Regions from separate parts of the Homo sapiens genome. Here region 2 is linked to region 1. Evidence: promoter capture Hi-C in 16 types of primary human blood cells and fetal thymus (Javierre and others, 2016). All regions are on one chromosome and are shown on one strand. The core of a region is centred on a gene start or on the middle of the fragment in contact, and the rest is flanking DNA. Distances in the headings are between cores, read along the strand shown.

The links. Contacts are between HindIII fragments. The CHiCAGO score rates a contact against its expected background, and 5 or more counts as called.
Region 2: a contact is called between a fragment that was not itself captured here and the fragment with the promoter of WDR12 in region 1, in 1 of 17 cell types (fetal thymus). The highest score is 6.1, in fetal thymus.

The regions. Positions count from the first base shown.
Region 1 is chr2:202,910,201-202,913,175 of GRCh38, reverse strand. WDR12 (WD repeat domain 12) reads left to right here and starts at 1,503. Exons shown (of 13, transcript NM_018256.4): 1 at 1,503-1,740. The coding sequence starts at 1,700. It overlaps CARF (calcium responsive transcription factor), which reads right to left and starts at 901. Exons shown (of 17, transcript NM_024744.17): 1 at 74-901. RefSeq lists enhancers at 621-670, 771-970, 1,011-1,160, 1,171-1,320. The HindIII fragment of the contact is 1,677 bases long and covers 587-2,263 here.
Region 2 is chr2:203,933,214-203,936,188 of GRCh38, reverse strand. LOC101927840 (a long non-coding RNA gene) reads left to right here. Exons shown (of 4, transcript XR_427213.4): 3 at 1-81. Among named protein-coding and RNA genes, the nearest start is that of ICOS, 2.1 kb to the left of the region's middle. The HindIII fragment of the contact is 1,448 bases long and covers 803-2,250 here.

The DNA of each region.
Region 1 (2,975 bases), core at 254-2,753:
GGCGTCTACCTTACAGTAGGACATCTTTAAACAACGTAAAAAAGGAAAGCTTTGTCTTCACCTGCACACATACCGGTCTGCCCATAAATTTTGCAATCCAGTTCTGCCTGATTCTAAACTGCTTGTCTCTTGAAGCGAATGCCTTAAAAAGTGACATTGGGATCAGGATAGTTATCTCCATCCATCCTCCCTCAGAAAAACAACTATATTAGAGTAATTCTTGGGACCATTGAGAACAATACACAGGCCTTTGGGTAACTTCAAGACAAAAAAGGCAAAAAGTCGGGGAGAAGGTGTGGGAGGATGATTTTCCCCTTCTAAACGTAAGGTATAAAAGGGCTCAGAAAGCGGAAAAAGAACCCTAAAAAGCAAGGTGCGGGACGGCGTGAGGGACCACACATTGGGCGCTCCGCCCAAGGGGTCCGGCTCCTTCTCCGCGGCGATGGCGCGTCCTTGGGCTCAGCAACCCTCCTGAAGACACCTAACCTCCTCCTTCTCCAGCCTGCCCCTCTGGGGCCTGCGAGCCCCGTCCCGGGCCGGGGGTCGGAAGCCGTGCCATGTGGGACCCCGAAAAGGCCCCCAAGCTTGGCGCGGAAGGCGCCGCCAGTGACCGGCTGCGGCTGGGGGCGGAGGCCGGCAGTTGCTCGGAGCTCCGGCGGGTCAGGAGGTGACGGGAGGAGGAGGAGGCAGGAGGAAGACGGGGGGTTGGGAGGTAGCGTCCGGTAGGTCTGCGCAGACAGCGCTGCCAGACCTCTGACTCCCCCAGTCCTGCCGCCGCCGATAGCCCCACAAGGCGACATGGGAAGTCCGCCGGAGCAGAGGGGAGAAAATTCAAAACGAGTCTACTCAACCTCGTCTTGGCTCCGAGGCCCCGCCATGGAGACCAGCATAATGCGCAGGCGCGCCCCACCGGGAGCGCGCAGAGCAGTCCCACGACAGTAGGACCACTATCGGCCACCGTCGACCGTTTCCTCTCTCATCCGTTCTTTTCTTTGTATTTCCGCCTCTCGCCTCTCTCTAAAAGCCGCAGTTAGAGGCGAGATTTAGGAAAAACCTCTGCCGAGTGAGCCTCTGGTTGGGAATATGTATGAGAAAAAAAAACTGGCAAGGCGTTAGTCAAGCAAAGCTGAAGGCAGAGGAAATTTGATATCTGGCTGGAGTCTAGAGGATTTAATGCAAATAAGATACTCTGAGGGCAGCGTGGCAAAAAAAGACTACAATTCCCGGTGGTCACAGCGTTTGAGAAGCGATGCTTTCTGAGACTTGTAGTAACTAGGAGCTGTGTTTGAACTATCCAGGCTCAGGACAGCCTCTTGAAAAAAAATTTTTTATTAATAAAGCGGATTTGAGTGGGATCTTTTTCCTAATCGATTACGGGCCCACACGTATGGGAAGAATTCTAACAATGATTAAAGGGACATGCTACCTTTACGACTATCCTTTTCTAATCGATGACTCCTAAATCTAGGAGTAGGTAGTCGATGTTTGTGGTCTGGGCGTCTGTAGAAGGGCAACCTCGTGCTTTCTGCAGAGGAGACCGGAGGGCAGAAGGCAGAGTCCAGGCTTAGACTGCAGTTCCTCGCTTACCTGTGCAGTCTAATTTTGAGCTGCCTCTTTGTAGTCTTAAAAGGCAGGAGCTTCGTGTTGTGGGTCTGCTAACCCGTACGTTTCCGTGGGCAAGTCGTGTGTACTCCTCGCCATGGCTCAGCTCCAAACACGCTTCTACACTGATAACAAGAAGTAAGTAAGCGTTCCAGCCTTCTCTCCCTTCCCCAGGTTCCTTTCCGACCACCCCTTTGGTATGACCTTGTGGATCCCTGGTTGTTTCTGCTGTCACCCCCACCCTTTTTTCTGAGATTACCTGCTTTCTAACCAGCTTCGTAGGTTCTATATAATTTGAATTGTGAGTGTGGAGGAGGCTGAAGGGCTTCAGGTTTGCTTTCTGAATGAAACATTTTATATGTGTAATTTAAAAATGAACAGTGGGCCTTGTTATAGGGTGTCTGCTAGTGGTGGTTCACAGTTTTTGAAAACGGAAAAAAAGTTTTTGAAAATGAAAAAACATATTTACCATTTATGTATATCTATATAGATATATAAACATTTTAACCAGTGGTCTCAAGGTCTGTTAGCACTCATTCGAAAACTAATTATATGCTGCCTTGTGGTATATATTGCATTGTTAGCTTTCTTTGTGTTTGCCTGGTCTCTTCCAACTATATTGGAAGTCTCTTGAGGGCAGGGACTATATATTAATTAAGCTTCTTGGATTGGCTGAGTCAACAAAAAATGTCAAATTTTTCAGTGAAAATGATAATATTTGTCGTGTTAATAAGCTAAAGTTAGCCATAAACTAGGAAACTCCCACCTGAGTTACATCTGTGGTTTTGTTTGTAGCTTTATGAGGAGAGCTAGTAAATCATCTTCTCTCCCCTTGTGTTGTTGCTGAAAGTATACATAAATCGTATTATCAATGCACCTGAGTATATGTACTTACTTACATACATTGCCTTAATACTTCTCTAGGAATGTGGTGATGCATTAACATAACCACTGTGTTTTTTAATTGAAAGTAGGTTTTTTTGTTTTTCTTAAAATAAAATTTTTTGAAATATGTGGGGCTTTTTTTTGTTTGTTTGGTTTGGTTTTTTTGGAGACAGAGTCTCACTCTGTTGCCCAGGCTGGACTGCAGTGGTGGGATCTTGGCTCACTGTAACCTCTGTCTCCCGGGTTCAAACAATCTTCCCGCCTCAGCCTCCAGAGTAGCTGGAATTACAGGCATGTGCCACCAAGCCTGGCTAATTTTTGTATTTTTAGTAGAGACAGGAATTTGTCTTGGTGGCCATGCTGGTCTCGAACTCCTGGCCTCAAGTGATCCGCCCACCTCGGTCTCCCAAAGTCCTGGAATTACAGGCATGACCCACTGCGTCCAGCCTTGAGATAATTGTTGATTCACATGAAGTTGTAAGAGATAA
Region 2 (2,975 bases), core at 277-2,776, 1.0 Mb before region 1:
AACCAGGGATTCCTCACCTACGGCTCAGTGAGACCAAGAATGTTTAAAAGCCTGCCGTGGTCTCCCCATCCCTGCAGGGAGGTAAAGTAGACAATAACAACAATAACAATAATAATTACATAGATAATTATATGTATATGTACTTAAATGTTTTATATGAAATAATATATCTTAATGCAAAATGTAAAAAATTAAATGTAATATATTTTATATATAAAATATACCTATTTTTATATATGAATATAGCTAATATTACATTTATATTATGTTTTATATGCATGTAAATGGTTACTGTTTGTATATATATTTACATTATAACTATAGTTTATACATACATTAACTCATTTAATCTTCTTAATCATCCCAATGGTGACCACTAATCTCCCATTTTACAGATGAGGAAAACTGAGGCACAGACAGGTAACGAACCTGGCCCAAGTCATATAGTAAGTGTCAGTGCTATGATTTAGAGAGTCTGGCTCCAGAGTCCTCACTCTTAACCGAAGCAGGTAGAACCACCAATACCAAGGCCTGCTGATCCCTCCATCCAGAAGTCTGAACGCGCTTCCAAGATGCTAGATCCAGGCTGGACTTCCCTTAGCCTGCAGAAATGACATTTAGATGAGAAGCTGAAATCAGCTGGCCAGGGAAACCAAGGTGTGAGTCCAAAAGGTCCAGGCTCTGAAACAGATTCCAGGTTTGGGGCTTTAGGCCAGCCACTAGGAATGCCAGACCACAGCCAAGGGGTCTGCAAGGTAAGGAGGAGGCTGATCCTGCAGGGATCCCCCTAGCTGCTGAAGCTTCCCCTAGCTACCTTCTGTAGGGCTCCTGGGTCTCAGCAGTGGGTGTGAAGGAAGCTGTTTGAGGGACTGAGCTAGCCTGAGAAGTAGAGCCTGGGCTGCCAGGACCCCTGGGACCTTGCTACCCCAATCTCCTCCCTTTTCACTGTACTCCCCGTAGCATCATGAGGAAAGGCTTCCAGCCCCACCGGCACTGTGCTAGAGTCCTTTCCCAGCACACAGGCAGGCAGTGGAGAACAATTGACTTCTTCCAACCTAGGTGAGGCCTAGCTCTGGAACTGAGTATGGGGAACTTTAACTTCACTTGAGAAAAGCTGTCATAAGTTCTAGAGCTCAGGGCTGTTGCACAGAGAAAAATACAAAGCAGAAACCTAATAATAAATATGCAATGAGGACATAGTGTGTGCCAGACACGGGGCTCCACGTGCATTGTCTGATCCCGTTCTCAAACAACTCAGCGAGGGAGAGTCTGTTACTTATTCTCATTTCATAGATGAGAAAACTGAGAGTTAGAGAGATTCAGTCATTTGCCCGGAGTCACAGAGCTGATGAGCAACGGAGCCTGTTCAAATCCAGACAGTGAAACTCTGGATTCCAAACTCTTAACTACCCCACCACACTCACACACTTATCCTCATTTATTTGGCTAGAAATTACTGGAAGCATTACTTTTTTTGGTCTCCTATTTTCATGGTGGAAGGATACTTAGGTCCTAGAGGAAATTCCAAGATAATTTGAATGCAAAAAAAGATGTCCTGGTCAATTGGAGGTGTAATGTTTCTACCTCAAGGGGAGAAAAGTTGCACAAGTTATGGTTAAATTCAGCTTTAGTTCAACTGGATATGTGTGGTTTTGTTTGATATGTATCTCTTTGCTTTTTCCCAACCCTCTCGCTTCTCAGTTTGTCAGACACTGGGTGGTAAATTGATCCGATAGTGGAGAAGAGCTCACTTCTATGTAAACAATGTTTTATGTCAAAGTCCTGTTTCAATGATCCTTCCCATGCCTCGCCTTCTCAAAAATCTTGGTCAAGAATACAAGTACTTGTGGTTTAAAATATTCAGAACTGCTTTCACGTGCCTGGAAAATTAACTGGGCAAAAATTTCCATTCACCTCACAGGAAGTGCTTTTAGTTTGCTTTTAATTTTTTTTCATTCCATGACTTAAGATGGTTTTGATTTGTGTATGCAGACGCCTGGGGTGAGGGTGGGGCATGGAAAGTTGGTTACATTAAAAGTGTTTTTTATTTCTTGCCTCCTGGGCACCAGAGTTCATCATGCAGCATGCTTGCTTTTCTGAAGGGCCGTAGGTGAATGTCTTTCTTTTGCTTTGCTTGCAACTTACTGAAAGCAACATTTGTCTGAGTAGAGGAGCTCAGACACCAGCATGGTTGAGTCCAAGCAATAGGGTTAGAAAGTAACCCCCAAATATCTAGGCTTCACCTAAGCTTGGTTTGCCATTCTGAAAGGGACAAGCATCAAAAGTGAGAGGTCCTTCCTAATCACAATTGCTTCAACTCCTACCTTGCCTATACTGTTGAGTGGTACCACCAACCAGCCTTCTCCCTTTTCCTGCTGATTCACCGATAAACCCCAATTACTCTACTTCCTAACTGTCTCTCAAGTATTTTTTCCTCCTCGCTTGCCAAGGTCACTGACTTAGATCAGGCCTCTGTCATTTCTATTCCCACCCTTGTCCCATTTTGGTCTGTCTTCATGCTACAACCAGAGTAATCTTTGTAAAATGTAAATAGAATTCATCTGTGTCCCCGCCCCACCCAGGATCCTCCACTGGCTTCCTCTCTTAGGTAAGGCCCACACCCCTTCAAGATTCCTTATGAAGGGCAACTCCTTCCCCAGTTCGGCCTCATCTCTTGCCACATTTGTTCTTTCTTCCTTCTGTACCAAATGTTTCCATCACGTTGAATGACATGAAGTTCTCCAAATTCCCCAAACTAACTCTTCCTTCTACTGCCAGGAGCCATCATTTTGTCTGTGCTTCCCCTCCTCACCACTCTAGCCTACCTTCTTTGGCAGATATTCCACCATTCTTCAGGCCTTTGCTTCCATACCCATCGATTCATCAAAGACATCAAACCAATGTCATTCACTCCCAACCACCCCCATAACTAGTGTCCATTTAGTGGCTTTTCTGCAACCTCCCAATGCTCCTCT